Linked DNA regions of Homo sapiens: all the other regions are linked to region 1. The links are contacts of gene promoters, found by promoter capture Hi-C in blood cells and fetal thymus (Javierre and others, 2016). All regions are on one chromosome and are shown on one strand. Each heading gives the region's core, a stretch centred on a gene start or on the middle of the fragment in contact. The rest is flanking DNA. Distances are from core to core; before and after follow the strand shown. Region 1 holds the start of GNPTAB (N-acetylglucosamine-1-phosphate transferase subunits alpha and beta). Region 2 overlaps MYBPC1 (myosin binding protein C1). Region 3 overlaps WASHC3 (WASH complex subunit 3). Region 4 overlaps MYBPC1 (myosin binding protein C1).

Region 1 (6,278 bases), core at 2,473-4,972:
TTCTTGCCTTAGATTAGGCCTTCCATGTGGCCAGCCTTGCCTGGAACATAGTTCCCTTCCCACCCCACATCTTGAGTCCTCCAGCTCAATCTTTAGTATCACCTCCTCCAGGAAGCCATCCCTGACCTCCCAGGCTAGGTTAGTGCCCCTCACAATACTAATCCAATATATATATGCCCCTCCAGAGTGTAAATCCCACAAAAGCAGGGACCATGTCTTTCTTGGTACCCAAGTATTGGGGTACCTAAGTCATTACGAGATAGACTCAATGTCCAATAAAATGCCCAGCACAAAGCATTCATTCACAAATGCTGAATAAACACTAACCATTACTTAAACTTTTCTCATAGATTGAGCTCACCACTATATGCCATATTAGCCTACTGACTGTACTTGGAGGTACTGTTGCCTTCACTCTATCTCTCTGCTCTTACAGATATCTACATCATTGATGTGAAGATGATTACATTTTTGGAATTCATTTGACTTTTTTAAAAAATATTTTCTACATCATTTTTTTCTCTAGTTACTTCATGTTTGGGAGAAAGGCAGGAAAGGGACCTCTTTATTTATTTATTTATCTGCTATAGACTGAGAACCCAGATGACAGTTTCTCGGAATTATATTTATCAGATTTTGAGAGGGACTGTGGGGTTCTTCTAAAAGCAAAACTCAGGGGTTTCACTGGGTTCCTGGGAATCCTTTTTGATCTTTTGGCTTTTCTGGCTCTTTTAGGTTGCCAGATAAAATATTTCCAGATAAATGGGATGCTACTGCATATTTTTTCCACTGTTCAGATGTGGAGAGTTTAAAATCATTTCCAGGCCAGGTGAGGTGGCTCCCAGCATGTTGGGAGGCCAAAGTGGGAGGATTGCTTGAGCCCAGAAGTTCAACACCAGCCTGGGCAACATAGTGAGACCCTGTCTCTACAAAAAATTTAAAAAAATAATTTCCACAACTTATGCATTTACATACTACTAATGTTCTTGAAGTGCATATTTAATCAGTTAATTCTCCTGCTGAAAACCTCATTGCTTTCAGAACAAGGCTAAATGTTAATTTTCTTAAATTTTTCCAACACTAAAAATGTCGCAGGCACTTGAGCATTTTCATGTGTTATTTTACATAACCCTCCTAACTGTATAAGGTAGCTACTACAGGTATATCATATTGCACCCACATTTATTTTATTTAAGTTCAACCATACTGCCTGAGGAGGGGGAAAAGGGAGTGAACAAGAGCAAGTTCTCTAGAAGAAAGGACTTAGACAATGCTCCTGACCTCCCTTGAGGCTGTCTAGTTGGAGCCTAAAGATAAAGGAAAAATTTAAGGGTAATTCATACTACAACAAAGCATACTTTTTAAGAAGGACAGGTTCTAGGCAAGGCTAGGACTAAAGTGAGGACAGTGAAGCACTTGTCTTGGGTGGAAAATCCGAGGGAACTCCAAAAAACTCACTAATCAAGAGGAATAATATTTTAATGCTATATATATATATTTTTTTTTTTTTTTTTATTAGATGGAGTTTCACTCTTGTTGCCCAGGCTGGAGTGCAATGGCACGATCTCGGCTGACCGCAACCTCTGCCTCCCGGGTTCAAGTGATTCTCCTGCCTCAGCTTCCTGAGTAGCTGGGATTACAGGCATGTGCCACCATGCCCTGCTAATTTTGTATTTTTAGTAGAGATGGGGTTTCTCCATGTTGGTCAGGCTGGTCTCAGACTCCTGACCTCAGGTGATCCACTCGCCTCAGCCTCCCAAAGTGCTGGGATTATAGGCGTGAGCCACCGTGCCCAGCCTAATGCAATATTTTTAAAAAATCAAAATTAATGGTTGGGCGCAGTGGCTCATGCTTGTAATCCTAGCACTTTGGGAGGTCAAGGCAGGTGAATCACTTGAGGTCAGGAGTTCAAGACCAGCCTGACCAAGATGCTGAAACCCCATCTCTACTAAAAATGCAAAAATTAGCCGGGGGTGGTGGCATGTGCCTGTAATCCCAGCTACTCAGGAGGCTGAGTCAGGAGAATTGCTTGAAGCCAGGAGGCGGATGTTGCAGTGAGCTGAGATCACGCCACTGCAACCCAGCCTGGGCAACAGAGCAAGACTCTGTCTCAAAAAAAAAAAAAAAACCCAAAAAACAAAAAAAACAAAAAACATTACTGAAGAATATCCATGAAAAGCAAAACACCCAAACTTTATGTTTTATTTTACGTTTTAAATTTTTTTTTTATTTTAATAGGAACAGGGTCTGTTACCCAGGCTGGTCTCAAACTTCTGGGCTCCCAGACTCCTGGGCTCAAGCTATCCTCCCACATTGACCTCCCAAAGTATTGGGATTACATGCATGAGCCACCACACCCAGCCCCGATATCAAAACTATAAACAAAGACAGAATCTCACTCCAAACTTGCATGACTCATTTCACAGTACCTTCCCCTAATCTTGGCCCTGTTCTACAGCCTAAGTACCTGGTTCAAATCTCAATTCTGTCATTTACTATTTGTGTGATGTTAGATAGTTACTTTTTTTCATCACAGTTTCTTGATCTGTAGAATGGGGATAATAATGGTATCTCCATTATAAGATTATTGTGAGGATTAGATGAGCTGGGCACATGGCAGATGCTACATAAATGTTGGCCATTATCCTGAGAGTCCTGTTGAGTGGCAGATGTTTTTATATCTGTTACCATGCTTTTTTACCCCTTCTGATTAAGTCCTCAGATCTGTTATCATGCTTGAAAAGACCTCAGAACTATATGTGTCTTGTACAACTGCAATAATCTTTTGCCATGTACATATAGCATATATCAATCATCTTTTTTAAAAGAAGGATTAAAAGAAGTGACTGCAAAGTGTAAAAAATCTTGCCTTGGATTGGAGTGAAGCTAACCCCTTTTGCAAGTCTGTTAATTCCACCTGACCATCAAACTGAGGGTGCGAATTTGAGTATTTCCTGAAGCTGGTTCCCAAGATATTTTTAAAAATGCTTTGAATGATGGCAACATTAGATAAGTGTATTGTTTCCCAGGGTGACTAGGAAAAAAATCTTATTGACTAGGGTGCATTGGGATTAAGAAAAAGATCTCCCTTTCGTAAATCAGAGGCACCAAGGAAAGGATCTCGTGGGAAAAACCTGCTGTCAAAGTCGGATTACCTGGCCACCCCTGAGCTGGTTCCCCTCCAGTTCATCGCATGATTTCTATCATAACAACTCTTGTATTTAGTGGTTTACATGTTTATCTCCCCCACTAGACTCTCTGAGAACAGTAGCCAGGTCTAGTTCATTTTTGAATACCTGACACCAAGCACTATGCCACCTAACAGGCACAAATTACATATTTAACGACTAAATGAATGAACGAAATTCGGTTTTGGCAGATTTAACCCAAAGGTTTCCTCTTTCAAACAATATAGTTGGGGGTTGGAGGAAAGGAGCCACATACAGCATCTCCTTTTAGCACTCTGCAGAGAATGCTAAGTGCAGAGAAGGTTTTATGCACAAAAATATTCATGGCATTATAGTACCGTCTATGGCACAGTCTCGACGCAGGGGGCAGTTTTCTCTTGGTCGCCTGCCCAACCGGGTAAGTGGATCCCAGCTCAGCTCCGCCCCTCCCAGCCCAGCCCTCAGGGCCCGCTGCGCAAGCGCAGGTGGGGAGGGCGCGCACCTTCCCTATGCCCCTCCGTCCTCCAGGTGGCGCTGGAGACCCCGCCGCCGCCGCAGCCGCCTCTCGCCCGGCCAGACCCGGGCGGCGCCGGCCGCCTCGCCGGCCGCAGGTCCGCCTCCGCCGCGCCGAGGGCGTGGGCTCCCGGCTCCCGGAAGCGGCGGCCGCGGCGCGGAGCCGAGCGGGCGTCCGTCGCCGGAGCTGCAATGAGCGGCGCCCGGAGGCTGTGACCTGCGCGCGGCGGCCCGACCGGGGCCCCTGAATGGCGGCTCGCTGAGGCGGCGGCGGCGGCGGCGGCGGCTCAGGCTCCTCGGGGCGTGGCGTGGCGGTGAAGGGGTGATGCTGTTCAAGCTCCTGCAGAGACAGACCTATACCTGCCTGTCCCACAGGTATGGGCTCTACGTGTGCTTCTTGGGCGTCGTTGTCACCATCGTCTCCGCCTTCCAGTTCGGAGAGGTGAGTAGCGGCGCCGCAGCCTGGACCGGGCGCCTCGACCCTGCACTGCCCTCGCCGTGCCCCGCGATGCCCCGATACAGTATGTATTTTTTCATTATTAGAGACGGGGTTTTGCCATGTTGCCCAGGCTGGTCTCGAACTCCTGAGCTCAGGCGATCGCCCTGTCTCGGCGTCCCCGAGTGCTGGGATTACAGGCGTGAGCCACCGCTCCCGGCCAAATACAGTATTCTTTATCATAAACGTGTGCAGAGACTATGAGCAAGTCAGAACTGGAAAAAGGCATGTATGTGATTTTAGATATTGCTCCCTCGCCCACCGTTTTTTAAAAATAGAGACGGAGGTCTCCCTATGTTGCCCAGGTTGGTCTGGAAGTCCTGGGCTCAAGTGATCCTCCCTTCTTGGCTTTCTAAAGTGCTGGGGTTACAGGCATGAGCTACCGCACCTGGCCCAAGAAAGCCACTTTTAGCAACGGGGAGGAAAGCTGTATTTTTAAGTGGTTTGAAATCTGTTCCTTAGTTTTAGTTTTTTTCTTTTTCTTTTTTTTTTTTTTTTTTGGTAGGAGGTTACAAAAGGTTTTAAAATTTAACAGAGTAGTTTTTAGAAATGCCACAGTATACATTTGCTTGAAGTCTTTACCCATGCTGGATTGTAAGCTCCGTAAGAGAAGGTGCTGTCTGTAAATACTGTAACCCTGGCCCAAGCACAGTGCCAGGTACTGCCAGAGAATGCAGTGCAAGTGTTTGTTTAATGGCTAAATTATATGGCATGAATTCTGAGCATGTACTTTTTTAGTAGTTCTTGGTTCTAGAGGCTGGGAAAAAATGTCTTACCATAAGGGTGAGAAAGCTCCAGATTTGTAAGTGTGAAATATGTACTTAATATTATAGTACTTGCTCGTCTTTGTTTCATGTGTTGCAACTTAATGTATCTGTGTGTAGTTAGGTGCCTTATTGCTTTTGTGTGATTTTTTTGGCCTTGATTAATTTTGAGTTAACTGTTTATTAAGTCCCATGCAGTGTGAAGATGACTTAAAGGCATCAGGTGTTAGAATTCTTCATTTTATTTTATTTTTTTGAGACAGAGTCTTGCTCTGTTGCCCAGGCTGGAATGCAGTGGCTCCATCTCGGCTCATTGCAACCTCTACCTCTCAGGTTCAAGAAATTCTCCTACCTCAGCCTCCTGAGTAGCTGGGACTACAGGCGCGTACCACCATGCACAGCTAATTTTTGTATTTTTAGTAGAGATGGAGTTTCACTATGTTGGCCAGGCTGGTCTCAAACTTCTGACCTCAAGTGATCTGCCTGCCTTGGCCTCCCAAAGTGTTGGGATTACAGGTGTAAGCCACCGCACCTGGCCCGAATTTTTCATTTTATATCCTTTTCTTTTTGCTTTCATTCCATGCTTGGCTGTTTACCAAAAGAGAGACATTTTGTTGCAGTCCTGAAATGGCCACAGATCATAAGGTTTGGAACAGACAAGAGAAATGAGAGGCAGACAGTGCCAACAGGTGTCATGAGAGGTGAAGGCAGCTGGCCTGTGGTTAACTTGTAAGGCATAATGGAAAAGAGGAGCTGCATGATTAGGCAGATTTGGCCTTGATTGCTGACTCCAGTTGATAATGATCATAATAATAGCTAATACTTATATTGGTCTTAACAGGTATCAGGCACTCTCTTAATTGCTTTACATATGTTAACTGATTTAATCCTCACAACATCACCCCTGTGGGATAGGTGCTATTATTATAACCATTTTATAGGTGATGAAATGGATGCATTTGCATTAGAATCCAGCTAATTTGTGGCAGAGCTGGGCTTCAAACCAAGCCAGGCTGGCTCAGAGCTGTGCTTTTTTTTTTGTTTGTTTTTTGAGATGGAGTCTCACACTGTCACCCAAGCTGGAGTGCAATGGCGCAATCTCGGCTCACTGCAACCTCTGCCTCCTGGGTTCACGTGATTCTCATGTCTCGCCTCCTGGGTTCACGTGATTCTCATGTCTCAGCCTCCCAAGTAGCTGGGATTACAGGTGCGTGCCACCACACCTGGCTAATTTTTTGTATTTTTAGTAGAGATGGGGTTTCACTATGTTGGCCAGACTGGTCTCGAACTCCTGACCTCATGATTCGCTTGCTTTGGTCTCCCATGGGATTACAGGCG
Region 2 (6,758 bases), core at 1,996-4,495, 180 kb after region 1:
TAGTTTCACTTCTGTAATTTATTTATTTTTAGTTTAATTCCATTGTCCCTGAGAGCAGATATTATATGACTTCTATTTTTAAAAATTTGTTAAGGTGTTTTTATGGCCTAGAATGTGTTCTATTTTGGTGAATATGCTATGTGTGCTTGAAAAGAATGTGTAATCTGCTGCTATTGGATGAAGTAATCTATAGATGTTATTTATATACAATTGATTGATAGTGCTGTTGAGTTCAGCTGTGTCCTTACTGATTTTCTGTCTGCTGAATCTGCCCATTTCTGATAGAGGGATGTCAAAATCTCCAACTATAATAGTGAATGCATCTATTTTTCATTGCCGTTCTATCAGTTTTTGTCTCATATATTTTGAGGCTCTGTTGTTAGGTGTATACATGTTAAGGATTATTAGGCTTTCTTGGAGTATTGACCCATTCATCATTATGTAACGCTCATTTCTATTCCAGATAAATTTCTTCGCTTTGTAGTCTGCATTGTCTGAAGCTAATATGGTTACTCATACTTTCTTTTGTTTAGTCTTAGCACAGCATGTCTCTCTCTCTCCCTATACTTTAATGGATGCAACTTTATATTTAAACTGGGTTTCTTATAGTCAACATATCTTTGGGTCATGTTTTTGCTCTACTCTGACAATTTTGGGCTTCTAATTTGTATATTTGGACCATTGACATTTAAAGTAAATATTGGTATAGCTCGATCAATATCTGTCATATTTGTTATTATTTTCTATTGGTTGCCCTTCTTCTTTGTTCCTATTATTGTCTTCTACATTTTTTTCTGCCTTTTGTGGTTTTAATTAAGCATTCTATGTGATTTCATTTTCTCTCCTTTATTAGCATATTAATTTTACTTCCTCTTTTTTAAACTTTTTAAAGTGGTTTCCCTAGTTTACAATATATATTTACAATTAACCCAACTCCACTTTCAAACAACACTACAGTGGTTCACAAGTAGTGCATGTACTTTAAAATAATGAAATGTCCCTAATTCCTTTCTCCCATTTTTTGTATTATTGCTGTCATTCATTTCACTTATATATAAAATACATAAATATAACTATATAAGCATACCTAATTGAATACATTGTTGCTTTTATCATTTTGAACAAAGTATTATTTGTTAGATCAACTGAGAATAGGAAAAAATGAAAAAGTTTATTTTACCTTCACTTATTCTTTATTTTATACTCTTTCTTTCTTTATGTAGATCTGAGTTTCTGACCTATATTATTTTCCTTTTTCTGAAGAACAACTTTTAATATTTTTTTGCAAGACAGATCCATTGGCAACAAATTCCCTAAAGTTTTGTTTGTCTGAGAAAGTCTTTATTTCTCCTTCACTTTTGAAAGATAATTTCAGAGGGTACAGAATTCTAGGTTGGTGGGTTTTCACCCTGAACACTTTCAATGTGTCACTCCACTCTCACATTTTGGCAGTTTGCCCTGTATCCTCACTTCTCTGACATATGTAAGAGGAGTTGCTAGTTTTTCCGTTTGTCCAGCTTTTTACTTGTTAGGATAGAGTGGCAACTTCTAAGCTGATTACATGCCCGAATGAAAATTTGAAGTCTAACTGATTCTTTAAATTTTTTTGGACTTTTTCTCTTGTGTTTCATTTTGGATCATTTCTATTGCTATGTCTTCAAATTTGCCTTCAATGTCTAATTAGCTATTAATTCCATCTACATATTTTTTATCTGAGACATTTTATTGCTTTCATCTGTAGGTGATTAGATTTGGATCTTTTTATATTTTCCATTTCAGTTCACTTTTTTCACTTAACTTTCTCTTAATTTTTATTTTATTTTATTAAATTTCTCTTAAATTTAATTTAAATGGAGAGCTTAACATTTCTCCACCTAACTTTTTGAACATATGGAATACACTTAAAATAACTATTTTCATATGCTCGACTGCTATTCTAATTTACATGTGAGATCTGAATTGGCTGTAACTGACTTTTCTCCTCATTTTGAGCTGTGTTTTCCTGCTTATTTCTCTACCATAATGTTTGACTGGATGGCAGGATATTGCTAATTTTGTCATGTTGGGTGCTTGATATTTTTGTATTCCTATATAAATCTTGAGCTTTGTTTTGAAATGCAATTAAATTATTTGGAAATTGATTGAATCTTTTAGACTTGTTTTTATGACTTATTAGGTGGGTCCATGACAGTGCTCAGTCTAGGGTTAATTATTCCTGCAACCAAGGCAAGGCTTTCCTGAGTACTCTACTCAATGCACTGTGAATGATGAGGTTTTCATGTCTAGCTAGGGGGAACAGGCACTACTATTGGCCTTGTGTGAGTGCCAGTCCACTTCTCTTTAATCCTTTCATATGTTCCTTTCTTGAATCTTGGGTAGTTTCCTCATAAATGTGCACTGATCTTTGCTGAATACTTGAGCGTGTTCCTCTGCAGAGCTCCAGGGGGACTCTCTGTGCAGCTCTCTCCTCCAGTATGTATAGTATGTATCCTATGAACTCTAGCTGCCTTGGTCTCCTTGTACAATGGGAGTCCTAAACTTAGGGAGTCCACTGGGTTCTGTCCAGGTTTTTCTTCCTTGTGCCACTGCCTGGATACTCTTTTATGGCAATAAGCTTGAGGCAATTATAGGGCTTATTTCATTTGTTTATCATATTTCATAGTCATTGTCTTTCACGATCTGATGTCCAATGTCTTGAAACCCATTGTTCACATATTTTGTCTATTTTGGGGGTTATTTCAAGTGAGTAGGTAAATCTGGTTCCTGTTATTCAATTCTGGTTGAAAGTAGAAGTCTCATTCTGCTTTTTATTATTTAATTTTATTTTTAACATTAAAAAAATTTGTTTTGAGATAGAGTCTCACTCTGTCACCCAGCTGGAGTGCAGTGGCGTGATCTCGGCTCACTGCAACCTCTGCCTCCCGGGTTCCAGCAATTCTTGTGCCTCAGCCTCCTGAGTAGCTGGAATTAGAGGCATGCTGCCACCATATTTGGCTAATTTTTTTGTATTTTTAGTAGAGATGGGGTTTCTCCATGCAGGCTCAGGCTGGTCTGGAACTCCTGGCTTCAGGTGTTCTGCCTGCCCCAGCTCCCAAAGTGCTGGGATTACAGGCATGAGCCACCATGCCCAGCCTCATGTCTTCTTTTTAAATGTAATTTTTCTTTTTTTGCTTTTATTTTTGTAGAAAGCCACGGAGTCACACTTGAGCTGGCACTACTCTACCATTTCACCCTCACTTGCATTTCTCCCAATCATTCACTTTGCCCCAGCCATGCTGGCTTTCCTTCTGTTCCTCCAACACATCAGGCTTATTCTCTCCCCTTGGCCTTTGCACTTGTAATTGCCTCCGTATGGAAATGTCTTCCGTTTGATCTTCACATAATGGGTTCCTTGTTCTTCACAGAGGCTGCCATTGACTATGCAGTTACTTGCTATTGTATCATTCTCTTTTATTATCTTCTTGTACTTATTACTATCCAAAGTGACTTTGTTCATTTATTTATTTAATAATTCATTTTCTTTTTCATCCCCCCAATTTCATTAGAATAAAAATGAGGCTTTTTCACTGTGCATCAAAACATGCTTTGCTACATAATAGTCAGAAATATGAGAAGTAAATTAATGATGATCAGATTTGCCTGAAAATCAGTCATCTTTCTTTTTCAAAGGAATTACATCTTTACTGTACTGCTGTACATTTATTTGTTTTCTACCTTCATCTGAATAATGGAGGGCAAGGGGTGGGGTAGGCAGTGTGTCTGCATATGTGTGTGTGCATGTGAGTGTGTGCAAGCATAAAACAAACCTTATCTCCCCGGCTCCACATGGCTTTAGGAGGTGGTTCTCCGCTGATGGGGATCTCAAGACGAAGCTTGTTTCCTGCAATCACTGTCACTGTGTTGTCAGCATCAAGACCATCCAGGATGATCTTAGGAGGATCTAGAATATTAAGCATAGTCTTTGTTATCAGACAGTCATTTCTGTGTAAATATCTGCACTAATGTTTGGCTAGTATGATGGTAGTAACCAATATTTTATCTAATCAAAAAGAATATAAGAGGAGTCAAGATAGTTGGTGCCTGGCACCTTGCAAAACCATTTTATTGTAAGGTGTTGGTATAAGTCACCAATCTTTCTGATTGGTGATTAATACCAATTGATGTATTTTTCCTTAAATGTCACTTAGTTTTGAATATATTATAATTCCATGGTAAGCAAAAGCAAACAAAAAAGAACACAACTATGCAATGAATTATTTTATCTACTCACCAATAACATGAACTTTGGCAGGCAGAGTAACATTGTAGGCATCAGGTGCAAATACATAATCACCTTCATCTTCAGTGAGGGCATTGGCTATCACTAACTTGTGGATCCTAAGGAAACAAGGAAAATGTATTTCTAAGACTCCAAAGATCTAGTTTATATATGACCCAAGCTGAAAAGACACTTGACCTTTATCTGATTAACTTCTTTAGTGCAGGAAAGAGAGGGAGAGAGAGAGAGAAAGAGAGAGAGAGAGAGAGAGGATGAGAAGCCTTAATTATCCTACTTATTGATTCAAATTAAATCTTTATTTTGGACTATATGGAATTATCTCCACAAATAGAATCTGCTTATTGTATATGCAGAGTCTATTATTCTTTTTTTTCATCTCATAGCTTTAAAAAGGCTAAAATAGAACATATCAATAATGCTATACTTTAAGATTCAAGAGATGCCAAGAATAATCTTGATTTTGGCTTTACATCCCAAACCCTAAGAACAATAGCTCTTAACTTTATTGGGGTCACAAACTAGTGAATATCTGATGGACACTATGAATCCTTTCTGTGTAAACAGTATGTATTTTTGTACACATAGAATTTTCTCACAATTTCACAGGAGTTATGGGGCTTCCTAAAGTTCATTTATGATACCCTAAAAGCCCATGAATTCAAAGTTAAACTCTTGCCTTAGATCTTTGCCAGATTCTAGGATATTATGTCCCCTACGCAAATAAAGATTTGTGGGAAGGCATTGTGACACTTATTGGTTAGAGACGGTTAATCCATTTGATCAGGTCCTCAATTAGAATTCAGTATTTTTCCTCTAACTTCATGTTTATTATTTATTTTAGAGACAAGGTCTCTCATTCTGTTTCCCAGGCTGAAATGCAGTGGTGTGATCTCAGCTCACTTCAACCTCCCCCTACTGGGTTCAAGCCATCCTCCCACCTCCCAAGTAGTTGGGATTACAGGTGCATGCCACCACGCCTGGCTAATTTTTGTGTTTTTTGTAGAGATGAGGTTTTGCCATGTAGCCCAGGAGCTCTTGAACTCCTGAGCTCAATTGATCCGTCTGCCTTGGCGTCCCAAAGTGTTGGGATTACAGGCATGAGCCATGGTGCCTGGCCTCTAACTTCATGTTTAAATGGAAAAAGAGTCAATGGATTTTGAATAGACAAAGTACCATAGTGTGAGGTACAGATACAGGATTATGAGTAGGACATGCTATACAACAGAGAAATCACACCTTCTTGCTAGTTGGAAGCGAAGAATCAGGAATAGATGATCTCCCTATGGCTACCCTTCAAATATCCTCACCAAATATGTAATTTAGAAAATGGAGAAAGTAGAAATGGGACCAAACCTCACTTGCGGGTCACCTGGCTCGCTTACCTTCCCTTGTGAACCACCTTTAGACGGTCACTCTCCTGAACAGGTAGGCCATTTTTAGTCCATTTTCCTGGTATGTTTTCAGAGATTTCACACTTCAGGCAGATTTCTTTTCCAAGATTTACAGTCTGATCAGTCAGAGGTGTCAAAATCTTCAGAGGTTTCACTGTAGAAATGATAGACCATCACAAATGCCAAGCCCAAACTCCCAACAGGCCAAGATGGTGGCATTTCACAATGGTATAGTGAGCTCTACTACAATGTTTGTTTTGAAAGTGAGAAGCTGTACCAATGCAATTAATATATTAGAGGATAATTTCACATTTGATTCTGTACAATTTCATTCCTTAGAAAAACTAGGTGAATGCAGAAAATTGCATCCAGCTGAAATGACCCAGCAAGGAATGCACAAAATCTGCAGACTCACACCTCAAACATCTATCAGCTACCTCAGTTCATCCATGTGATATAAGCCACACCCATTTACATCTGAGGTCACAACTACTCATCAGATTTTGAATAATCCTCTTTCTACTGCTTCACAACAGTTCACAAGCCACAACACTTCCAGCATTAATTCTGTAAGCAAATCTCAGGTCTTTTTCAACATTAAGTGCCATATTTATTATATTTATTAACCATTTAGCATGTGTAAAACTGTGCTACTACTTTTTACTGGGTTCTTATATTTTAAAAAATATGTCGCTGACTGATGTGGTTTGGCTGTGCCCTCACCTAAATCTCATCTTGAATTGTAGTTCCTATAATCCTCACATGTCATGGGAGGGACGTGGTGGGAGGTAATTGAATCATGGGGGCGGTTACCCCCCTGCTGCTGTTCTCATGATAGTGACTGAGTTCTCATGAGATCTGACAGTTTTATAAGGGACTTTTGCCATTTTGCTTGGTACTTCTCCTTGCTGCCACCATGTGAAGAAGGACATATTTGCTTTCCCTTCTGCCATGATTGTAAGTTTCCTGAGGTCTCCCCAGCCATGCGGAACTGTGAGTCAACTGAAGCTTTTTCCTTTATAGATTACCCAGTCTTGGGTATGTCTTTATTAGCAGCATGAGAACGGACTAATAAACCAGCAAAATTC
Region 3 (6,799 bases), core at 3,383-5,882, 200 kb before region 1:
AACCCAGGAAAGCCTAAGCTTAAAAGATAGACTTGTTAAAAAACAACAACAACAACAACAACAACAAAAACTATTTCACTCTTTTAAACAAAAGGGAGATGCTTCTAAATGACTCAGAAAGATTTTTTATGTTAGCCCCTTCTTGCCAAACCTATATAAAATAACAAACAGGAAAATCTACTAGGTGATACTCTGTAAAAATGCCCTGAAATCTTTATGAAGGCTGCATCTTAGGATAACTGTTAAATTCTTGATAATTGTCTTCAATTTTATAAGAACTTCAAAAAATCTTTTTCTTTTTAAATCCACCATCTGTTTATTTCACAAATATTTATCAAACACTTACTTGAAGCTAAGCTACTGTATTAGGTATTATCTAGATTTATTTAGCCAACTAAGGTTTCCAGATACCACTTGCAATTTTTATTTTTGTTACTAATTACGTCAACAAGTTCAATTGCTTTTCAGTCATAAATATACATATAAAATAAATGACCCGGGCCGGGCATGGTGGCTCACTCCTGTAATCCCAGCACTTTGGGAGGCCGAGGCGGGCGGATCACTTGAGGTCGGGAGTTTGAGACCAACCTGACCAACATGGAGAAACCTTGTCTCTACTAAAAATACAAAATTAGCTGGTCATGGTGGCACATGCCTGTAATCCCAGCTACTCGGGAGGCTGAGGCAGGAGAATCGCTTGAACCCAGGAGGCGGAGGTTGCAATGAGCCAAGATCACGCATTGTACTCCAGCCTGGGCAACAAGAGTGAAACTCTGTCTCAAAAAAACAAAAAACAAAAAACAAAAAAAAAACTGAATAAAATAAATGACCCTTTAAATATTTACTTTTTATTCATATGTCTTATCACCTCACTAGGAATAAGAGCCAAGATCCTTCACAGGCCCAAGAAATCCTATACAGTTTAGCTCCCCTGTTACCTTTATGATCTCATATCCTCACTCACTCTTCTCCAGCTCTACTGGCCTCCTTTATGTCCCTTGAATAAATACATTGGCAGCCCCTGTCTCAGGGCCTTTGCTTCAGCTGTTCTGTCTGCCTGAAACACTTTTCCCCAGATATCTTCATGGTTTGCTCCCTCACTTCCTTCAAGTCTGTATTCAAAAATATTACCTTCTAAGTACAGCCTTCCTTGGCCACCCTATTTTAAATTGCAGTGTCCTCCTACCCAATTCCCTTTACGCCTTCTCTGCTGTATTTTTCTTCTTATCAACTTCCAGCATTCTACATATTTTATGTATTTACTCTCTCTCTTCCCTACAAAGTTATAAACTCCACAAGCAAAGGGGATTTTTTTGTGTACTACAGTATTCCTCATTCCTGCAATAATACCTTGTACATAGTCCTGTGAATGAAAATGCTTATAATTTGTCTATACTATTTCACCTTTTGATAGGTTTAGGTGATGGACTCCTTTTTCACACTAACTCAGTGGTTTGAGAAACTTCCAAAATATAAGTTCCTGGGCCCTACCCTACAAAATTAGAATCTCTAGAGTTGGTACTTGGTACATACAGCATATGTATTTTGGAAAAAAACTCCTGATTAAGAATTGCTTAAAAATATTTTTAAACTATATCTTAATATCATTTACATTTTTTAAATTTAAAAGCATTTAAGAAAATAAATAGTTGTTTTATTTTTAAAAAGCCTTAACTTTTTTCTAGCAGTACTTAGCACTTAACTCTAGCCCATCCTTTTTGCTTGATGTCACTGAGTATGATTAGGGGTTCAATTTCTTCTGCCTCAGACTGTTTCTGATTTAAGACAAATTTTTCTGTTGTTAGCCCTTTGTCTCCTTTCTGCCTTCGGTGAGGGTATATCTATTTCCTAAGCATTTTCAGCATTCTGGAAGGGCTGCTTCTTCCTGGCATCTCCTCCTTCAGGCACATGGACTTGACCTTCTTTTGCTCTGCTAAGTCATCAATCATTCTTCTATCTGCTCTTAATTTTTATGTAATTGGTTCATATATGCCTCTTAGTCATTAAAGTTGGAGGTCATATTCTGTTTCGAATTGTTTAGGGGTGATTTTCAAGAAGAAAGTGGGGAGCTACATCAAACTGCCATCCTAAAACTAGAAGTTCATCCAAGTTAAATTTAATTTTATTGTTTTTAGTTTATTGTGCCAACCTGCATCCCAGAACCTTATTACCCAACTTTTATTTCCTATTGCTCCCTGTCCTGAATTGGATTTTTTTTTTTTTTTTTTTTTGAGACGGAGTCTCTCTCTTGTCACCCAGGCTGGAGCAAAGGGGCACAGTCACGGCTCACTGCAACCTCTGCCTCCCAGATTCAAGCGATTCTCCTGCCTCAGCCTCCTGAGTAGCTGGGATTAAGGTGGTGCCCGCCACCACACCCAGCTAATTTGTGTACTTTTAGTAGAGACGGGGTTTCGCCCTGTTGGCCAGGCTGGTGTTGAACTCCTGACCTCAGGTGATCCACCTGCCTCAGCCTCCCAAAGTGCTGGGATTACAGGCGTGAGCCACCACACCCAGCCCTGAACTCCATTCTTTAATCAGACAAAACCACAAACCATTCCCTATATAAGCTCCATGCTTTTCCTTCTCTGAATCCAGATTCTCTTTCTCTTTATTATTGCATGTCCAAATTCTGTTATCTAACATGCTCCTACGATTGCGTCCACTAAATCATTCCAGATTCTAAACCCACCAACACACGTAAAGCTAGAAGTAATAGCTCCTTTTGTTGACCTATCCAATGACTTTACCGGTATTCTTCCTGGAGTTTGTCACTTAATACTCTGTTTTATGATTATCTGTACATATTTTTGTATCTCCAGTTGAAAATGGAACCATGAGAGGGAGAATGGTATCTTGATTAATCCGTGTATTCATTTTAACACCTTACCCATAAAGGTGCTCAATCAATATTTGTTAATGGACTCTATATGTAATCCTGCATATGATCTCTCCTTCTTCACTTTGTGCTACCTGGATATGTATAAATATGCTCTCATTTCTTCAAGTTATCAATTTAAAATATTTTTCAGGACTAAAACAAGAATAGACCCAGCAGAGGTCTTCCTCAAGGTTGACATGAATCTGCCAATCATTATTTTTTGGATTATGATTATTGAACCATCTATAAATTCACTCCTTCTTCTTCTGTTTTCTAAGCATATCATGAGTGACTGTCAAAATTTCCAACAACAGATGTAGGCTACACATTTGACAATGCCCAGGAATTTTCTTTCCTTGGCATAATCACTACCAGAATTCCTGTCCCTTCTTCATTATCATTTATTTTGGCCTTTGTGTTCAAACTTAGGCGCAAATAGTTGCATGTTTGCCTCATTGCTCCCTTTATTGAGGAATTAAATTTTCAGTGGGGCAACTTAGGAATTTATCAGGTATTCTAATATAGGCAAAATTAAGCTGCTAGTACCTGTAGATGGATAATATCCCCCGTCATGTCTGTATCTTTCTGCTTGTTTACAGTGTTTTAAGAAAGCCTTATCTAAATCTTCCATCCGGCTAGGTAGCTAAAAAGTATGCCCCATCTGATAAAATTTCTGCCTTCTTTTAGCCTCACTTAGGGGTTTCTTTATCTCATGTTCAAGAATTTCCATATATGTGTATATATTTTGATTTACGGTTATTGTCCTCTTTCTGCTGGGAAACATTGTAAGACATTTCTTTGAAATGCCAGTTCTCATACACAAGTTTCTTCCCATTAAGTGTTAGCAGTCCCCAAGATTTACTTATTTTGAAATTTCAGATTTGCTGTATTTACATACTCACACACACACACACACACACACACACACACACACTTTTTTTTAGGCTATTGGATTTGTTTGCTGTTTACATTTTCCTCCTAATAATTTCCTGGCAGTTATTCCACTGTTTTTTCCCTATTATATTATTGTTATTCGTAGGTCTAGTCTTAAAATTTTAACTGAGGATGTTTTAATCTTTTGATTTCAGCGTAAAGCTTCTTGAACATACCTGTGGGTATTATGTCAACATAATCTTTTGGTTCTTCCAAACCACTTAGCACTTTTCCAAGAGTACAGTCATTCTAATGTCATAAGTTATCACCTAAAATATTATTCTTCAGCAGTATCTGCATAGCTAGTTGTGTTTCCTATATCCATTCCATTACCAAATTATAACTTTTAACTGGAAGAGCAGATAACAGTACCACTTTGCTTTAGAAAATGCCTCAGAGAAGTGGAGTGAAGAACAATCACGAGAGACCTATTATAATTTGTACCATTGAACCATTCATTTTCTGTCATTGACATGGAAAGAATACAGATAGCTTTGTATCTCTATACCTCAGGATGGTGATATGCCTTCCTATTTTCTGTGTTTGTCTTCTAATCAGTTGTTCACTCTGAAAATGTGGTTCAATTCTTTGAGTATAACTGAGAACAAACAGGGTTCAGGGGGATATAGATAAAAAAGCAAATTTGACCACTGGCTATAAGGAGGAGCCTAACCCCAGCTAATTCTAGAGGGTGACTTCATTACAGACTACCTTATCATACTGAAAAGTGTTTCACTTTCCCAACAAGATTTTAGATATGTATTAAAATACCTAATTTTTCTCAACTTTAGGGGTGACTAACATTTGCTTACCCACCACTCAAAATTCAGTTTTAGTTCTTAATGCAGAGAAAGACCGATAACAACATAATTCTTTAAATGAGTTCTAATTTGTCCATTAGTATGACCTTGAGTAGTTTACCATCCATTGTACATATGACTACAGCTTATAGAAACAGTTTTAGAAGCCTACATGTCAGCTTTTAGGGAATTGTTTATATTAACACAAAGGAAGATGACATAGTCTCAAAAAAAAAAACTCTTTCTGAAAAAAAAAACTGTATTTATACCAACAATATCTAATCCTTTATACCAACAATATCTAATCCTAAGATCTTAAGAATAACCATCTCTATGCATTCAAAAGGGAATTAACAGTGCCACAAGGTCTTTCACCTTGTGAAAGGGAAATAATAGGATTTGTCTCTTTTCAGTTGCCTTTATATTCTTGTCATTTAAAAATATTAGTTACTGCCCCATAAGAAGAGTCTTAATACCTCTATTACAATTATACTGAGTTTCTTTTTCCAAAGTGTAATATACTTTCACTCAGTATCATCTTGATACATAGCTCCTCAACAATCTTTTAATCATTTCTCCTACTATTTTAATTATTGTTTAGAACGATTTTTGTCTTCTGTAATAGGATAGAATTGTGTTTTTCAAGACCTTTCAGCTTCTTCTGTAGCATAGAAAGCTTTAATTTGCAGACTTCTGATGTGATCATTCACTTCAGATATGAATGAAAGTCTTGCGGGTTACAAAAACAGATTTTTCCTGATTTTAAGACTTCCTGGATATCAGGATGAACTACAGACCCCTTTGGCTTCCTCTCTAAACTGCCATGAAAACTCCCTCTTCCTGGGTACTAACTATCGCCTGGAATGCCTTGCTTTTATATGTGCCTTGCTTCACTTGCCACATACCTGTAAATCTATTTTACAGTCTAGATAATGAAAACTATTTAATCAATATAAACTCCTTTGTACAAAAACCAACACAGTCCTTCACTAATCACAAGTACCAGTTGACAGAGTAATAAGTAATACCTTGTTTTTTGGTCTCCATGCCTTTTTCTGTCACTGCTGGATTACTACCCTCTGAGAGATAAAACAATGATTAGATTAAAACAATGAAAGAAAAGTTGTTCTTTCTCTGGGAGAAAATTTCATTGCCTAGGAATACACCCAGATCTTTTCCCAGTACTTCTGGAATACAACATGGTATAGTTTCTTAGCTTTGCCATCACATCAAGTCATGTCACCTCTCAAGACTTCAGTTCCCTCATACATAAAATGAGATCTGAAGTTCCTTTTAGATTTATGATCTATTAATTGATCCCCAAATTTGGATCTCATTACTAATGAATGTTCCTGGAACACCTGCTGGCATTTTCTGACTTTTTTTTCCTTTTTAACCAAGTTTTATACAAGATTTTTCAGTGAGTAATACTGTTGTGTTCCAAATGTGGCAGATAATTGATTTTGATTTAATGTTTGTCATAATAGTGCAGCACAAGCCTTTACTAAATTACATATTGCTTTTATAACTTAACTGGAATTGTGTACATAGATCACTTTTCCAACAATTCTCCCCTTTTTACTGGCAGATCATGGTGAATCCTCTGCCAGTAATAAATTGTGCATTGGGCAAGTCCGACTTCCACATTAAGAAGCTAATGACTTGTATTTTTTGAAACCATATTTGCCAAAACAGTCTCTTAGACACTTAGATTTTTTTAAAGCTCTATTTTCTTTGGCTGGCTTAAAATGTGAATTGAATAATCTCTTTGGTTCTGGTGGTTCTGATGCATCCATTGCCAGTGGTGGATGTTGGCCTGAGGAAATGTGACTTCCATTACCTAAGGATGAGGAGCTTCTAAATGATTATTAAAGATGTCCATCAAGAAGGTATGCACCTTGGACCTTGTGAAACCAGTCAAGCATGAAGTAGCATGTTCTTTAGATGACAAACAAGATACAGTTATTGTAAGAGTAATTAAAGTCTTTAAAACATTTTTTGGATATGACCCCAATGTGGCTTTCCATGGTTTAGAGAACTCCAGGTAGTTTCCTCATCAGTGATCAACAGTATAGTCAAAGTATAGTCAAAAAGGAGGAGCTACTGGTTCATACATAATCATAGCTGTGAAAAACACTGTTACAGATTTAGCTTAATAACGATGTGATTTCTTTTTTCATTGTTTTTT
Region 4 (6,495 bases), core at 3,875-6,374, 200 kb after region 1:
TTCATCTCACTGAAATAACAGCTACATCCTTTATTAACATGAGAAAATCGAAAAGCTTAAGAAAATTGTCCTGAAATTGGAATATTGGTAATAATTTGCCAGATCCACTAAATCTACTTCCTGGAAACAGTAAACACTTCAAATACATCCTTTAAATATTTTAGTAGGAAGTCTAGGAGAGTCACAATTATGATGTATATGTATAGGCCGGGTGAAGTGGCTCAGTCTTGTAATCCCAGCACTTTAGGAGGCTGAGGTGGGAAGATTACTTGGGCTCAGGAGTTCGAGACCAGCCTGGGCAACATGGTGAAACCCCGTCTCTACAAAAAATACAAAAATTAGCTGGGCATGGTGGCGCATGCCTGTCATCCCAGCTACTTGGGCTGAAGTGGAAGGATTGCTTGAGCCCAGGAGGTCGAGGCTGCAATGAGCCAAGATTGCGCCATTGTACTCCAGCCTGGGTGACAAAGTGAGGCCCTGTCTCAAAGAAAAACCCAAAAAAGATGTATATGTATGTTCATATGTATATATTTTCTGCGGGGTGTTCCCTCAATCTAGATTATTAGTGCTCTATTTTTGTCACATTCCAGCCTAAATATAGTCCCCAGACTATAAAATTATGCCATACTGGATTATGTTAAATTTGTATTTGAACCATGAAGAATTGCACACATACATTACATATTTCAGCTATCCTCCTGACATTGGCGGAGGATTTAAAGCTATCAAGCTAGATATAATTAAAATAGCTAACAAGAGGCACAAGTCACTGAGTCCTACATAGATCCATGAGGTGAATATTTATATGAAGGAAACCAGTAATAAAGATGATAATTTTGAGTGTGATTTCCTGAGTCAGTTTTGTTGGTAGATTTATAAAACCAATCATCCTCACCAGTTTTCATTAAAATGCCAAGATACTCTCCACTCTTATCACATACTTAGTCATATCAAATTTCATATAAGAACACCAATGACCTCTTGCCTATTCCTTCCTTTTCTCTCCATTACTTAATTGTATCTCAAATCGTAAAGAGAAGCATCTATCTTGTACTGAAATGTGAGGTCAAGGCTCTCACCTCCAGCATTTCCTTAATGCACCTGGAACATATCTTTAGTTACTTACCATGGTGGCTGCACATGACCCTGTCTGCATGGCTATGTTAAGTTACAGTGAGGAGAAAAAGCCAAATTTCTGTAGGCACTTCTGATTCTTTTCCAAGCCTCGGGATAGACCTGTATAATACTCACTGTATTTTCATCTACATCAAAATTTCAATAACTTGGTGATCCTAGTGAAGAGTATAACAGTTATAGAAATTTTATGTAGAGTACAACTTACAAGTATTTATACAGGTCAATTCCTATAACAGGATGCTGCCCAAAAGATTTAATCTGATTTAGCTAATGTCTATTTGAAGTAAGCTGGCTTTGTTCAGAGCAGGAAGATCTTTCGTTGTACAGAGATGTTGGTTTTAATCATATTTTTTTTTCTTGTGGGGATTTTGGCACACACACTTGGAGGAGTAGAAATGGTAACCATATGTCATTACCGCAATGAAAACGCATGCAACTCACTAGTAGGAAAACACAATGATTTCTAAAGTTATATTAGTGGATTAGTATAGTATACTAAATGAACATAACATAGCCTTATATTAACAACAATCTAATTATGAATGCAAATCTTAAGCAGGGGATAAAAGAAAATGAGAACTGGAGACATGTTGGCTGCCCATTAAGTGATTTTTAAATTTTGTCATTTTGACTATGTAATTAGATTTATTTTATTCTGGAATTACTGGTTGAAAAAGTCTGTTCTTTTTTCTTTCTTTTTTTCCTTTTTAATCAGAGCAAGGTGCTTAATAATCTACTGTATCACATTTTTGTTGATTGATTGTGTATGTGTTTGTGTGTTGTCTCCTTATGAATATAAACTATGTTAGAGAAAATGACACATTTCCTTAGAGGAAGTACATATTTATTTGCCACCTACTGTGAACCAAGCTTTTTACACTTAATTTAATTTGCACAATAATTCTATTAAGTAGTGTTTATTCTTCACATTTCCAGATGTGAAATCCAAGTCTCAGAGGGGTCAAATATTTGACCAAAGTCACATAATTAGTAAATGGTAGAGCTGAGACTCCAGTCCATGTTTTTACCACTATTTTTCCTCCCACAAAAGTGTATCTATCCTTTTCTATGTGCCAGGCACTGGATTTCTTTTCCTCACATCAGTAGCATTATATTCTACGCAAAGACAGTGTTTAGTATTTTCCTGACTGAGTAAATGATTGCAGGGAGAATACAAAGCTCTCTTGTCTTCCTAAAGTGTCAATTTGTGTTATAAACTGAAGCGCCAGCTTCCAAGGCAAATTCAGAGTGGTATCTTTAATATGGAGTCACAGGAAATGAGCTGACTCATAAAAGGGAAACTTGGGTTTGGGTCCTGGCCCTGCCTCTAACTCCTGTGTGACTTGGGATAAGTCACTTGTTGTCTCTGTACCTTGGTTTCTTATCTGTAGAATGAGGAAACGTGAGGCTCACTTAAGGGCACTTCATATACTATTGCTTTAAATGCATTTGGGGAATTAATCAATACTATTGAGACTAATGGTTATTTGAAGTAGTCTATTGATGGGCTAATAGCCCTCAGGAATTAATAAATCACACCCATTAATATTTCTGTTCTCAACCTACATGTTGAGGGATAGGGGTAAATTTTTCATTTACAGAGACTTCAATACAGCTATCTAACTAAACAGAGAATAAACACAATCCCAGTATATTTCAAGTGTTTGTAATTTGTTATGAAGCATATTTGTACTTGTAGTCTTTTAATAACCATAGAAAGCACTAAAAGTAATTTTAAAAGCCTGGAAAGTTAAATGAAAACTGATATTATATACAATTAATTTAAAATTATAGTTTTACTCTGTTTATTTACAAATTTGCTAGATAAAACATAATCTCAGAAAAAAAGTGTTTCTTTTTGTTGCTTCTGCACTATAGTAAATATCTAGATATCTATAACAGGCATATAATATAGTATATATATAGGGAATCCTAGTGAAGAGTATAGCAGTTATAGAAATATATATGGAGAGAAATCTTATAAAATGGTTATGTTCTAAGTATCCATAATGAAATCCTATAAATTTTATTGCAGGAGAGAACAATGAAAAGTGTCAGTGTGTGATGATACTAAACTTTTATTTCCATTTTGTCACTTCTAAAACACATTTTTGAGGCATTTTAAAGACCTCTGAAATGACAATGCATCTTATAATCAATGGTGTGTCAAACCATTTGGAACAATTTTTTCATTGCTTAGTGATTTATAAAGTGCTGGTGTATCTTAATAGCAGTGGTGTCTTAGACTTGCAGAAATACAGTACATCATAAATAATACATTAAAGTAGGTCTGCCTCTTACAATGTGTATACCTTCAGACTTCTACCAAATCATATGTGCAGTCTTAGAGGTTTCTAGGTATTTGTCTTATGTCTCAGTTTTCATATCTCTTCGTCCCCATTTAAAAAAAAATAGGTGAAGAGTCATGAAACATTTAAAAAGAAAGTTTAAAAGCAACTGTTAAAGGCTTTAAAAGATTAGTATGCAGTTGTTTCTCTCTTTCTAGTCAACTCTGTTATATTCTATAAGCAAAACACATTTTCAGAAATGAAAAATTCTCTGAAGAACATCCACTTTAAACTTGACTTCTCTGAGTGGGTGTCTGAAAGACTTCCAGGCCACAATGTCTCACTCCATCACTTTGTTCTCACCTACGTTTCAGGAGACCACTAAAGTCAAGTTCTCCTGCATCCTCTTGACCTTCTCCACTGTCGTTAACAAAAGAAAAGCAAATCTGGGTTTAATGCAGAGACATACACAACAATTTCCCCCAAACACTCTACATGTAACGTATATGCAATTTTGTGCCACACAAGGACTAAATCAACACAAACTATTTCTTTTCACACAAGTGACATGTTAAGTTTTTGGAGTATGTACTTGTGGAAAAGTAAACATATGAGGAGCTTGTGTTACGCTATGATTTCAGAAGACACATTTTTGTAGATTGCATATATAAAACTGCTTGGATTTGTGTTAAAACCAGGTAACACAAATGCACTTAAGCCAAGCAACACAAAGTACTTTGTTTTTGCAAGTTGGGGGCTGTAGAAACATACCTATGTAAAAAGCAAAGAACTTTTGCTGATCTCTGTTATTCATGTAAGACAGAGATTGGCTTGGAGGACGAAGTGTACCAATGTCAGATATATAAGTACAAAGCCTTATATTCAATGGTAACCTCTTTGTGTCCATGAACAGATGAATCAGATAATGTGATACTAACATGGCAAAAATAAAAAAGGAGCTAACACAGAAATTTTTAAAAGATGCATTCCTTTCTGTCTTAAAGGGTGATAATTATTCTAATTTTCTTATTAATATTTATACCTTCTTAAATATGTTTTAAAAAAATTTGTCTTGAATTGTTAATGAAACTTTTACTAGCAGTTTAAAAAAGTGCTTTCTTGTAGAGAAATGCATCTTAAATTAGGCATGCAGCCACCACTGTGATTTCATATAAACTCTAACCAGAAGCTACAGAGCTAACATTTAAATGGCACTACATAGTTACTTACATGTTTAATTTTTTAAGGAAGTTTTGTTTCCTGCTCTTTACAAATGTTAGTTATGGTTTCTAAGAAAAGAGTCTGTGGGTTTAAAAACAGTGTGTATAACATGTAAGTCATAAGAATTAAACTCAGTAATGTGTTTTCAAAATTTCTTCAGGTGTTTGCAGGCCTTTTGAAGTAAATACATTTCTGTTCTTTTAAAGCTCAAAACTTAGTAGATCATGTTTCCCTCTCCTAAGATATACTTGTATACAGTATGAGCATAGTTTTAGACCTGTGCATTTGCTGAGCATGGGATGAAGGGAAAGTGGAAGGAAAGTAATAAAATTTGAAAGTTATGACATTTTTTAAAATTAAAAAATACCTAATACCAGTAATATTAAATAACTTTTCAAAGTAATTAAAGTTTTGATTTATTTATAATATCAGAGGAAAATATGCCTCATTAACAGGCTAAATTATTGTTTTATAATAGTTTGGAGTGACTTTCCTTATTCAGCAAAACTGTATGTGGATTCTGTATGTGGATTCAGTCTTCGGAAGAACAAAACATTTGGTCTCATTAAAGAATTTATATTATGGAATAATTAAGTACAGAGAATAACATAATGACAGGAAGGGGCTGGTTATATTTCTCAGAGACCAAAAATCTTTTACATTTCTTCCTTGACCGCCCCCCCTCCATTTTTCAGCCTTGGTAATTGCAAAAATATATGAAATAGGTATCTAAATTTTGCCTTTCTGTAGTATTCTTAATGCCAGTTTCATTTAGGATAATCCAATATTATATGGCACTAACTTCAGTAAGTAGCTACTTGGTTGTGGTTTTCTTGGGCACATGGTTCAGTAGCTCCCTGAGTGATTTCTAGATGAAAGGCAATATAAATAAAAGTTTTCTGCCGTGACTTAACCAATGAAATGAGTCTCTTTGCGTATTTCTTTTGGCCATTTGGTGGAAAGTAATGCTTTAAGGAGGAAGCTACATATGAATAAATTGAAAGTGTCTTTCTAAGGCAACTGTGAAACCTCCAAAACAGGAACTTCTTTATAACAAGAACATTCTAAAAAATGGTCAGTATATGCTTGACTGGGCCTTAAACCCATGGTTTTTCTAGAACACCAATGTTTAAATATATGGTGTTTTTGCGGTGAAAAGTGTTGTTCGTATTTGGAATACGGAATACAGGGGAAAGGAAATGTGTTTGAAAATCCTCCACTTCTGTGTTATACAAAAGCTATCTAGATTTTTCTTTTGGAGTTACCTTCTCTTGAAAGCAGATCTGATGTCAATGTTTGGAGTAGTCCCAGTAGATTCTTTGAAAGGAAAGAAAACAATAACATAAATACCCATTAAGGAGGTAGTTTGTGTTCAGTTCCTTTATAGGCTGTGGGGATTCTTTAGATGGAAGAATGTCAGGTGAAGGGGGGAGGCTTTTCTCCTGAATGGCTGTGCTGCCAAGGCCTCATCATACCTCCTCCTCCCTCATGAAGAACCAATGAAGGGACCTTGGGGTCACCTTGTTCAGGTGTCATTCAACTTGTCTGCCCACTAGAATCACTGAGGGACTTAGAAATATATCAGTTTCTTGATCCTCTCTGCCAAAGATGTTGATCCACCAGATCAGGGAGGGGCACCCAGAAATCAATATTCTTAAATAGCCCTCCAGGGGCCGGGCGCGGTGGCTCACGCCTGTAATCCCAGCACTTTGGGAGGCCGAGGCGGGCGGATCACGAGATCAGGAGATCGCGACCAGCCTGGCTAACACGGTGAAACCCCGTCTCTACTAAAAATACAAGAACAAAATTAGCCGGCCGTGGTGGCGGGCGCCTGTAGTCCCAGCTACTC

The links. Contacts are between HindIII fragments. The CHiCAGO score rates a contact against its expected background, and 5 or more counts as called.
Region 2: a contact is called between a fragment that was not itself captured here and the fragment with the promoter of GNPTAB in region 1, in 1 of 17 cell types (neutrophils). The highest score is 6.6, in neutrophils.
Region 3: a contact is called between a fragment that was not itself captured here and the fragment with the promoter of GNPTAB in region 1, in 1 of 17 cell types (neutrophils). The highest score is 5.7, in neutrophils.
Region 4: a contact is called between a fragment that was not itself captured here and the fragment with the promoter of GNPTAB in region 1, in 1 of 17 cell types (neutrophils). The highest score is 5.7, in neutrophils.

What each region holds. Positions count from the first base shown.
Region 1 is chr12:101,828,403-101,834,680 of GRCh38, reverse strand. GNPTAB (N-acetylglucosamine-1-phosphate transferase subunits alpha and beta) reads left to right here and starts at 3,722. Exons shown (of 21, transcript NM_024312.5): 1 at 3,722-4,122. The coding sequence starts at 4,006. RefSeq lists silencers at 3,540-3,939, 4,296-4,590. The HindIII fragment of the contact is 15,537 bases long and covers 1-6,278 here.
Region 2 is chr12:101,650,297-101,657,054 of GRCh38, reverse strand. MYBPC1 (myosin binding protein C1) reads right to left here. Exons shown (of 32, transcript NM_002465.4): 16 at 5,662-5,824; 17 at 4,271-4,377; 18 at 3,807-3,940. It overlaps LOC105369937 (a long non-coding RNA gene), which reads left to right and starts at 6,184. Exons shown (of 2, transcript NR_188371.1): 1 at 6,184-6,239. The HindIII fragment of the contact is 1,258 bases long and covers 2,617-3,874 here.
Region 3 is chr12:102,031,795-102,038,593 of GRCh38, reverse strand. All of the region lies in intron 5 of WASHC3 (WASH complex subunit 3), which reads left to right. Among named protein-coding and RNA genes, the nearest start is that of WASHC3, 27 kb to the left of the region's middle. The HindIII fragment of the contact is 1,314 bases long and covers 3,976-5,289 here.
Region 4 is chr12:101,634,022-101,640,516 of GRCh38, reverse strand. It overlaps MYBPC1 (myosin binding protein C1), which reads right to left. Exons shown (of 32, transcript NM_002465.4): 9 at 5,912-5,963; 10 at 3,789-3,845. Among named protein-coding and RNA genes, the nearest start is that of MYBPC1, 42 kb to the right of the region's middle. RefSeq lists a silencer at 5,456-5,545. The HindIII fragment of the contact is 6,229 bases long and covers 2,010-6,495 here.